Linked DNA regions of Homo sapiens: all the other regions are linked to region 1. The links are contacts of gene promoters, found by promoter capture Hi-C in blood cells and fetal thymus (Javierre and others, 2016). All regions are on one chromosome and are shown on one strand. The core of a region is centred on a gene start or on the middle of the fragment in contact, and the rest is flanking DNA. Distances in the headings are between cores, read along the strand shown. Region 1 holds the start of REG4 (regenerating family member 4). Region 2 overlaps LOC105378937 (a long non-coding RNA gene). Region 3 overlaps NOTCH2 (notch receptor 2). Region 4 overlaps PHGDH (phosphoglycerate dehydrogenase).

Region 1 (2,700 bases), core at 31-2,530:
CGCCATTGTGCCATGAAGCAATGATGATTCCCATCCAGCTGCCTAAAGAGAAAGAGGTTTGTGTCAAACATTCTGATGGGAGAGATTCTTTAAAATGTTCTTTGTGAACCATGAAAGCATTACTTTCTCATGTCCTACCATGAATTTACACAACTGATGCAAAAATCTAATAACAAAGGTTGAGTAGCATTTTCCAAACAACAGTGAGCTGGGAGCAAGGAAGCTGGCTTCTGATATCAGCTTCACCCACAACTGTCTGTGCATTAAACTAGTCACAATGTTTCTCTAGGCCTCAATTTCCTCACCAGTAGAACAAAAGAGTAAGATTTGATAACTACTATGGTCCCTTCCAGACTTAAAGTTTCCAGACATAAAGGTCCTTTACAGACTTAAATCTGTAGTTTAAAGTTGAGTCATCTCTGGCACCTACAACCTAACCCTTTGCCATCTATACTGGAAAAGAAAATCTTGTTACTCTTTTCAAATAGCCTATTTTTCAGTAGAACTGTATTTTGGCAAACACCTATATTTGGAGTCAGAAGGACAAGGTTCAGTGTCCAGGTCCACTGCTGACCAGTGTTGTGAACCTCGGAAGGTTTCTAATCTCTCTTAAGGTTGGGTTTCTTGAGTGTGTAATGGGGATATGTGTCCTATGCTGCTCACAAGGATTTTGTTGGCATCTTATTTGATGACTTCACTGAAAACCCGTTATTGTAACACACTCTGTTGATGTAAGCTATTTTGACATGATCATCCATGTTCTGCGGGAGAAGCTCAAATAGTAGATCTCTGAGGAAACTCACGCATGTTGAAGGAGTGGAGTCGGTGCTTTAGGAAGGAAAATCTGTGTGTGGGTCTCAAGTCTCACCGCATGGGTCATAACCTATTCCTGACCCTGACAGAAAATCCTTCTAGAAATAAAAGAGAAATAAAGGAAATCCACCATACCAAGGCATAAAAAGACAGCCATGAAAAAGTAACATAAGGGGAGAGGAAGATGGGCTTATAACAGATTACAGGATGTTGTCAGTTTTAATAACGTGATGTGAAGAAAAGATTCTGTTTGCACACAGGGAGAGGTTCTTTTCCTGGCTAGTCAAAGCACACCTTACGTACATTCTGAAGCCGTCTCTTATATGATTCATTTTTTTCACTGTAGATAAGACTTTTATGGATGGATTGTTTTTCTCAAATAATATTATCGCTTTGTGACTAAAGTAAAGATTATTAATTCCTGAGGCAAGAAGATATAAAAGCTCCAGAAACGTTGACTGGGACCACTGGAGACACTGAAGAAGGCAGGGGCCCTTAGAGTCTTGGTTGCCAAACAGGTAATCCTCCTCGCGGTTGATGATGGGGGACTTTCTTTAAACATCTGTTTTCCTCTGTCAGCTATTAGCCAGGCCAGAAATGACAAATTGTATTTCTAGTGAGGCTTGTCAGGCTTTCTGTTGCTGTGTTGTTTGATTTAAATTATTTACCTTCTTTTCTTCCTTCACTGCAAAGAGCATTGGCTTTGGTGTCAAGCTGTTGGGTTAAATCTTGGCTCTGCAGTCTGGTAGCTGGGAAACTTTAGAAAAGTTACTCAATCATAAGTGTCAGTGTCTTCATTTGTAACATGCATTCATGAGATCTACAGTGCAGGTTTTTTGTTTTTGTTTCTGTTTTTGTTTTTGTTTTTGTTTTTTTATGGAGTCTTGCTCTGTCTCCCAGGCTGGAGAGCAATGGTGCAATCTTGGCTCACTGCAACTTCTGCCTCCCAGGTTCAAGTGATTCTCCTGCCTCAGCCTCCTGAGTAGCTGTGATTACAGGCACTTGCCACCACGCCCAGCTAATTTTTGTATTTTTTAATAGAGACAGGGTTGTGCCATGTTGGCCAGGCTGGTCTTGAACTCCTGACCTCAGGTGATCCACCTGCCTCAGCCTCTCAAAGTGCTGGGATTTCAGCCATGAGCCACCACACCCGGCCCAGTGCAGCTTACTTATGAACATGACATGCAGACATTCAATGAATATCAGTTCACTAAAAATTATTCACAGATTAGTAAAAAAGATGCTGCCTCTCCCTTCCCCCAGATGGTCACCTTGACAGAGAAATTCTGTTTGCGTTTTAAAGGGGTTTGAGGACATTGAAAATACACTATTACTTTTGGAAGGAAAGTTTAGCAAAGTGCAAGGTTCACGCAATGATTTAAAAAGAAGTAAGGGGTGGGGAAGGTCACATCCACACTCTCCAAGCTTTGTCTCATTCTCAGTTAATGTTGCCTTAAAGTGTTCAGATGGACCCCAGAATTGATTTTCCAGAAAAGTCATCATTTACATTATTCTCTTTAAGCAATCCATTATTTGAGAGTTAGATTGTATATTCAGATTTTTTAATCATAAAGTATGATTAAATGTGAATTCAATGAATTAACTCATTTTAAGAATTATTTGGGAGGGAAATCCAGAACTCAGTTTCATACTTATGTTAAAACAAAGCCCAGACAGATGAAAATAGAACAGTGATAAATATTTTAACCTTATGTGACAGTAATGGCCAGTCTTTTGATATAAATTTAAAAATTATTTTTAAAAACATAAAAAATAACAATATTTTTGAAAATTTCAGAATGGCAAAAATTATAATAAGTAAGAGAAAAATACAAACTGAGAAATACTATTAGTAACACGTGAAAGGCAATAAACATACAAAAAAGA
Region 2 (2,700 bases), core at 67-2,566, 110 kb after region 1:
CATGCGGTGTTTGGTTTTTTTGTCCTTGCGATAGTTTACTGAGAATGATGATTTCCAATTTCATCCATGTCCCTACAAAGGACATGAACTCATCATTTTTTATGGCTGCATAGTATTCCATGGTGTATATGTGCCACATTTTCTTAATCCAGCTGTCATTGTTGGACATTTGGGTTGGTTCCAAGTCTTTGCTATTGTGAATAGTGCCGCAATAAACATACGTGTGCATGTGTCTTTATAGCAGCATGATTTATAATCCTTTGGGTATATCCAGTAATGGGATGGCTGGGTCAAATGGTATTTCTAGTTCTAGATCCTTGAGGAATCGCCACACTGACTTCCACAATGGTTGAACTAGTTTACAGTCCCACCAACAGTGTAAAAGTGTTCCTATTTCTCCACATCCTCTCCAGCACCTGTTGTGTCCTGACTTTTTAATGATCGCCATTCTAACTGGTGTGAGATGGTATCTCATTGTGCTTTTGATTTGCATTTCTCTGATGGCCAGTGATGATGAGCATTTTTTCATGTGTCTTTTGGCTGCATAAATGTCTTCTTTTGAGAAGTGTCTGTTCATATCCTTTGCCCACTTTTTGATGGGTTTGTTTGTTTTTTTCTTGTAAATTTGTTTGAGTTCATTGTAGATTCTAGATATTAGCCCTTTGTCAGATGAGTAGATTGCAAAAATTTTCTCCCAGTCTGTAGGTTGCCTGTTCACTCTGATGGTAGTTTATTTTGCTGTGCAGAAGCTCTTTAGTTTCATTAGATCCCATTTGTCAATTTTGGCTTTTGTTGCCATTGCTTTTGGTGTTTTAGACAGGAAGTCCTTGCCCATGCCTATGTCCTGAATGGTATTGCCTAGGTTTTCTCTCGGGTTTTTATGGTTTTAGGTCTAACGTTTAAGTCTTTAATCCATCTTGAATTAATTTTTGTATAAGGTGTAAGGAAGGGATCCAGTTTCAGCTTTCTACATATGGCTAGCCAGTTTTCCCAGCACCATTTATTAAATAGGGAATCCTTTCCCCATTGCTTGTTTTTGTCAGGTTTGTCAAAGATCAGATAGTTGTAGATATGCGGCATTATTTCTGAGGGCCCTGTTCTGTTCCATTGCTCTATATCTCTGTTTTGGTACCAGTACCATGCTGTTTTGGTTACTGTAGCCTTGTAGCATAGTTTGAAGTCAGGTAGTGTGATGCCTCCAGCTTTGTTCTTTTGGCTTAGCATTGACTTGGCAATGCGGGCTCTTTTTTGGTTCCATATGAACTTTAAAGTACTTTTTCCCAATTCTGTGAAGAAAGTCATTGGTAACTTGATGGGGATGGCATTGAATCTATAAATTACCTGCCCATAGGGAACTTGCAGTCTAGTGTGTGAGCATGTATGTGCTATGTGTGTAGTCTGTGTCAGAAAAGCCTCAGAGACGGTAACACTTAGGCAGAGATCTGAAGGTGAAGACAGCCAGTGAAGACCATTTAGAGGAAAGAGAATAATAAAAACAAAGTCCCTTGGGTAGGAAAGTACATGGATTTTTCTAGGAACTGACAGAAGGTCAGAACAGCAATGATATAGAGAATGTGGGTGAACATGGCAGAAGACAAGGTGGGAGACATCAGCAGGGGCCACAGCATTGAGACCATGGGAATAGTCTCGACTTTGGGAGATGCAAGTATCAGAAACCCAGTGTAAACTGGTTCAAGGAAAAAAGGGAATGTATTGGCTCAGTTGTCCAAAAAGATCAAGTGTGGACAAAAACTTGCTCAGATAGTGTCACTGGCAATCCATGTCTCTCTCACCTGTCTGTTTTCCTCTGGCTTGCTTCATTTCCAGAAAGGCAAAATGTGGCAAGAATGTCACAAGTTAGTAAAGAATATAAAATTCAGCCACATAGTCTAGCAGTTTAGCAATCCTAAAAGATTGCACTGGTTTTCTTTTTTTTTTTTTTTTTTTGAGACGGAGTTTCGCTCTGTCGCCCAGGCTGGAGTGCAGTGGCGCGATCTCGACTCACTGCAAGCTCCGCCTCCCGGGTTCACGCCATTCTCCTGCCTCAGCCTCCCGTGTAGCTGGGACTACAGGCGCGCGCCACCATGCCCGGCTAATTTTTGTATTTTTAGTAGAGACGGGGTTTCACCGTGTTGCACTGGTTTTCTAATAATTGCCACAAAATGTCCAGACCTTATCCTTATCAGATCCCCCTGGGCCACATATCTGTCCTTGGATTAGTCACAGTGCCCAGGAGGATGAATATGCAGATTTGTCAGTCCTGAATAAAGCAACCACTTCAGATCTGAGGAAAGAATTCATCTATCTGAAGTATACACTAAAATTGTAAGAAAAGTGGGTCCCCAGAGGAAAATTCAGGAAGCTGAAAGAAGGGAAATGGGGATTGGAGGACAGGCAAGGAACACCAACATTGACTACTCCACCATGGTGAAGAAGTTTAGATTTAATTCTAAGTAGATGAGAAACAATTGATGGGTTAATTATAAGGAGGGGACTAATACTAAGTTTTTTTACAGAGCACTCTACCTTAACACAGAAGCTACATTTCACAGTGTTTTCATGTTTTCATTATCACAATGACGATGATCATGGTGAGCAGGGAGGTGATTCCCTTGTGGGGCACATGAAAAGACAGGATAAGACACACCTATAACTTGAAAAGGCAACTCTCTGATAGTGAAAACTAAGAATCAATGAATC
Region 3 (2,700 bases), core at 143-2,642, 120 kb before region 1:
TTTACTGAACTGAATATTGTAGGCAATTATAACACAATGGTAAGTATTTATGTGTCTGAACATATTTAAGAAGAGGTACAGTAGAAGATTTAAAAGGTACAGTAAAAATACAATATAAAAGATAAAAAATAGTACACCTGTATAGGGCATTTACTATGAAAGGAGCTTGCAAGACTGGAACTTGCTGGGTGAGTCAGTGAATGGTAAGTGAATGTGAAGGCCTAGGACATTACTGTACACTACTGCAGACTTTGTAAATACTGTACACCTAAGCTACACTGAATTTATTTAAAAAGTAATTGTGCTATGACATTACAAGGCTATGATGTTACTAGGCAACAGGAATTTGTCAGCTTCAGCTTCATTATGGGACCACTGTCGTATGTGCTGCCTGCATTGACTAAAATGTCATTATGCGGTTGCATAACTGTATTTATTGTTATGTTCTTTTTTGGACTGTTTTTATATTTTGGATTATACTTTGGAAAAATTACTGAGCCTCTCTTGAGCTCCAGTTTCCTTCTCTTTGAGATGGGACAAATAATAGGACCTACACCATAGGGTGCTACTTCACTGGATTGTGTGGGAGAGTACATGCGGAGCCCTAGTATGTTCTTTCCTTTACTTGTACAACTCACCAGGATGACAGCTGTCATGAATAAAGAGTGTGCTTTGCCCTGCCCAACTACAAGGTCCCACTACCAGTTGAGGAGTATACTCTGATTCATTGTGAAAATGCCAACAAGGGTGGTTATCCCTTGCTGGAAAGCAGGTTAAAAGGATTTTCATAATTCTGTACCTCTTCTCTTTCCTCCAGGCCTACTCTGTGAAGAGAACATTGATGACTGTGCCCGGGGTCCCCATTGCCTTAATGGTGGTCAGTGCATGGATAGGATTGGAGGCTACAGTTGTCGCTGCTTGCCTGGCTTTGCTGGGGAGCGTTGTGAGGGAGACATCAACGAGTGCCTCTCCAACCCCTGCAGCTCTGAGGGCAGCCTGGACTGTATACAGCTCACCAATGACTACCTGTGTGTTTGCCGTAGTGCCTTTACTGGTGAGAAGCTCTCTAGCCTCCTGGCCACTCTGCCTTGGAGGATGGTTTTAGTGAACAAATTGGGCCCTGTGAGTTGTCCCAGACCCAAGTGAAGCTTTTCTTATATAAGAAAAACAACAGCAGCTTAATTTTTTAAAGCCAGTTTTTTCTTAGTCTGTACTTTATGGATGTTATGATCAGTGTCTACCTTTAATTTTTCCTAAGAGATTCTTTTGTTGTGCATTGATTATATCATGCTATGGCAGGAATATTTTTTACAATGTATATTGAAAGTAGTTGAACAAAATAACATTTTTTAATAGTGGCAAAATATCCAAAACCTAAAATTTACTATCTGAATCATTTTAAAGTGTACAGTGTACAGTTCAGTGGCATTGTTTAGTACATTGACATTGTTGTTCTACTATCACCCCCATTCATTCACAGAACTCTTTTCATCTGAACAAAATAACATTTTGTTTTAAGGAACCTTACGTCTAACTCCGGTTTCTTCACCCTGCCTCCTTTGACATGTGATGGCTTGAATTACTGGGTAGTTCCTGCCACCATGATCTTTCCACCCCTAGGACTCAGAGAAGCTTAGGACCCTGCTTAGATACTTAAAGGGGGCAGGTCCAAATTCAAGTGTGTTTAACCAAAGATCAGTTGATGTGGGTATGAAATGAAAAGTTGCAGTGGTCACAAGTAATGCCTTGCCCAGTAAAGGCTTGGCCATGTTCCTACTCTGTTCCCAAGCTTCTTTCTTTCATCACAGGGCCTGAAGATGACCAAGCTCTGCCTCAGAATAGGGGTCTTATCACAAGAACTTACTAGTTACTTCTGGAGAGGGCAGCATGGTGACTTTTGGGAACTAAAATAGTTGTTTGTATCCAGATGTGGCAGGATACTCAGATTTGAAATTTATCATGCATTTCCTGGGGTCTGTAGTTGTATTTCTTATATGGAGGGTGTGATCAGATTCCTTAGGAGTCAGAAAATAGGCTTTAATAGTCTGTTTACAAACAATTCATCAAGCTGAACTCTGCTACATCCTGAGCCCATCTCCAGCCATCTTTCCTTCCAACTTTAAAGATATGCTACCTTACAATCTTGGAATTTTGTAAAGAATGGGAGGGATTCTGCAATATGGAAGCTCCCTGGATACACTAACATCAAAAAAGAAATAGTCCATTGTGAACATAATAGCTATTGAGGCAATGTGGAACAGAATAAGTATGAATAATCTGTCTACAGCCTCGTATTGGCCAAACTGCACTTTGAAAGCCAAAGCATCAAAACTGGCTCCTGTTTCTTTCATTGCCCCTGAGGCTTTTTTCTCTGGAAACACAAGCATTTGCAAAGTAAGGGGGAAGCAGGAGAAGGAAGGAATGGAGACCACTTTGAAGTAGTATCCCACAGCCAGGAAGTAGTGTTTGTGCATTTTCCACATTTGTGAATGAAAAAAAAAAAATCCCTTGAATACATTGAGCACAGTTATTGTGGGATGCTGTTGCAGAGATAAACAGCAAGGGACTGGTGGTCCACCAAGCTGTGTCCATGTGGTGGCTGCTCTTGGTTAGCGGCTGCTGCTGTGATTTGAAGAGACAAACATTTATACCTCTTGCTGCTTGATCTCGTTGGCCAAAAACATTACTATTTTTATTTCA
Region 4 (2,700 bases), core at 201-2,700, 83 kb after region 1:
AGTGGTGCCACGGAGAAGGAAGCCTGGGGAAGGGGAGTCATGGGGAAGAGGACCCCCTGGGGAAGGGGGCAGGAGCCTTGGAACGGCCACTGGTCTGGAGCCTGTCTCCCAGTTACTGCTTCATCAATGAAATGCTCACCTATTTGGCTATGAGTGCTCTTAGTTTTACTTAACTCCTGACCTCTGCCTTTTATATCAAAATTCTCCATGGACTAAACCTTGACCCTTGATCCCTTACAAAAGAGGATGGAGGAGGGAGTGCTCTTTGTGGCTTATGGCATCCCACCATCCCTGCACAGAGGGCAAGGCTGTGGTTTGTTTACATGATCAATGATCCTGCTGGGCTACATCTGCCTCTCTCAGGAGTCCAGGGATCAAGAATACACCTGGCCCTTCTCAGTGCAGAGGCTTAGGAAAGATATCTGGCTGACTTAAATAAATAAGATGGGGAGTGGAGGCAGGAGGGAGAGGATAATATTCAATGTGTACAATGGGATGCTCACCAGGCTCTAGGCTACTGTCCATTTGCTATGAGTCCTTAGGCATAAGCTTACAAATTCTAGATGTCAATGTAAAATTAAGGGTTAATCTATTAAGATCCCTTCTAACTCTAAGAAGGTAGGAGGGATGTAGAAAAAGGGAGAGTTCCATAGCAGCTCTATGTAAACTTTTCTAGATTTGACATGATCTGGTTGTCAAAACTGATCTCCTAATGTTTAAAGACTTCCTGGCTGCAGTTTGACCCCATAATCCCTGTAATTCCCTAAAACAGAAAGTGAACAGAGAGATGTCCCATAGTAGCCTTAGTGGGTTCATCTCTTTGGCCTATCTGGGAAGCCCTGCAGATCCCCTCTCTTAGCTGAATTGCCTCTCTCATTTGCAAGGTCTCCTGGATTAGCCCAAGTGGGTGGCACTGCTACTGATGGCAACCAGAGGGTTGCAATCAGGCTAAGGGAGTAGCCAGAAGCCTACTGAGCTCCCAGAGTAGGAAAAGGCAGAGACCTGGGGGAAGACAGGAGTTAGGTGTGATTTCTGAGACCGGTGTGAGGTCTTCCAGCCACCATAGGCTCTACAATCATATCATAGTGTACATACAAGCACTTTTAAATCTTTTCTGAAATATGGAGGGAAACTGGAAGGACAGATGGACAATGGATGTAAGGCTCTACTGTGAGGCCATAAACTTGTTCCTGTTTTCTAAATTATCACAGGAAAGCAGACAAAACAAAAGCAGGAAGGAAAGAAAGAATGGGCAGGACACAAGCACCCTCCCTGTGAGGCAGGATAGGTAATCAAGGAAGTGCAGCAACCTTGGTGATCCTATAGTCAACACAATAAGCCTCGGTATTCATATTCTAACTGAGCTCATTCAAGCAAAGCTATCTTCAGTAGGGAACTTCCCATCTAGACAGCCTGTGCACTTTGATTTTTCCTGTCCTCAAACTGACCCCCTGGCTCATTATAATAGTAAAAAACACACTCCTGGGTGGAGATTTAAGATGCTAATAAGACATGTGCCAAATGAACAAGAATGTACAGCTACTACTCATGTGCACCCAGAGGACCACCCAAAACATGCTTACTAGTAACAGCTCTTCCCACCTCCTTATGAATAATCATGTAAAACTCCTATAAAGGGAGTTTCTCCAGCAATAATCAACACTGCCTCATTCGTTTTTGTTTTTGTTTCTGTTTTTTAAGACGGAGTCTCGCTCTGTCGCCCAGGCTGGAGTGCAGTGGCATGATCTCGGCTCACTGCAAGCTCCGCCTCCCGGGTTCACGCCATTCTCCTGCCTCAGCCTCCCAAGTAGCTGGGACTACAGGCGCCCGCCACCACGCCCGGCTAATTTTTTTTTTTTTTTTTTTAGTAGCGATGCGGTTTCACCATGTTATCCAGGATGGTCTTGATCTCCTGACCTCATGATCTGCCTGCCTCGGCCTCCCAAAGTGCTGGATTACAGGCGTGAGCCACCGCGCCCGGCCAACACTGCCTCACTCTTATGAGCAGCCCACCCTGAATTCTCTCTCTCCCGAGGTGTACTGTCTACTCTGCACTTAACTTTCAAAATATTCTTTTTCCTTTGCAATAAACTCCTCAATGCTGCACCGTGTCTCTTGTTTAAATTCTTTTAAACTAAGAAGACAGGAACCAAAGTCTCAAAAGAGCCATCAACACCTGGTTCACTGGGACTCAGGGCTATTCACTCACCAGAGAGCTAAAGGACCCCCACCAAGTATTTCCAGCTTTTGAGTCCAGATCAGCAGGCCAGTGTTCTCTCCCTCCTTGACTTTAACACTTATTTAGATGGGGGCTCCAAGAGAGGGTCAGACCCTCCTAGAACAAAGCTTCTGGCTTCTGCCCAGACATGCTGCCTTTCCCAAAATTGCTGCAGAAAGTCCCACATCACAGGGTTCCAGCAACATCTTACCTTCATCCCAAAGGACTGCATCCGGGTAGCTACCTCTCTCCCAATCCTGCCCAGGCCAAGAATTCCCAGGGTCTTTCCATTCAGCTCTGTTCCCATGAACTGCAACCAAACAGGCAAAAGGAAAGAAGCTGAAGTCAGCAACATGAGTGGACCCCGGGCCCTGAGCCCAGGTGGGGCGAGTCAAGGCCGCTGCTCACCTTCTTCCGCTCCCATTTGCCGTCCTTCATCGAAGCCGTCGCCTGGGGAATCTGCCTGCAAGGATAGACACAGG

Evidence for each region. Contacts are between HindIII fragments. The CHiCAGO score rates a contact against its expected background, and 5 or more counts as called.
Region 2: a fragment that was not itself captured here is called in contact with the fragment with the promoter of REG4 in region 1 in 1 of 17 cell types (M0 macrophages); the score reaches 5.3 in M0 macrophages.
Region 3: a contact is called between a fragment that was not itself captured here and the fragment with the promoter of REG4 in region 1, in 5 of 17 cell types (M0 macrophages, M2 macrophages, megakaryocytes and 2 more). The highest score is 13.7, in M0 macrophages.
Region 4: a contact is called between a fragment that was not itself captured here and the fragment with the promoter of REG4 in region 1, in 3 of 17 cell types (M1 macrophages, M0 macrophages and M2 macrophages). The highest score is 8.7, in M1 macrophages.

The regions. Positions count from the first base shown.
Region 1 is chr1:119,810,040-119,812,739 of GRCh38, reverse strand. It overlaps REG4 (regenerating family member 4), which reads left to right and starts at 1,280. Exons shown (of 6, transcript NM_032044.4): 1 at 1,280-1,331. The HindIII fragment of the contact is 5,277 bases long and covers 1-2,240 here.
Region 2 is chr1:119,704,213-119,706,912 of GRCh38, reverse strand. All of the region lies in intron 1 of LOC105378937 (a long non-coding RNA gene), which reads left to right. Among named protein-coding and RNA genes, the nearest start is that of PHGDH, 6.4 kb to the left of the region's middle. The HindIII fragment of the contact is 4,943 bases long and covers 1-2,700 here.
Region 3 is chr1:119,927,330-119,930,029 of GRCh38, reverse strand. NOTCH2 (notch receptor 2) reads left to right here. Exons shown (of 34, transcript NM_024408.4): 23 at 818-1,054. Among named protein-coding and RNA genes, the nearest start is that of ADAM30, 32 kb to the right of the region's middle. The HindIII fragment of the contact is 484 bases long and covers 1,151-1,634 here.
Region 4 is chr1:119,726,832-119,729,531 of GRCh38, reverse strand. It overlaps PHGDH (phosphoglycerate dehydrogenase), which reads right to left. Exons shown (of 12, transcript NM_006623.4): 4 at 2,627-2,681; 5 at 2,430-2,528. Among named protein-coding and RNA genes, the nearest start is that of PHGDH, 16 kb to the right of the region's middle. The HindIII fragment of the contact is 1,797 bases long and covers 552-2,348 here.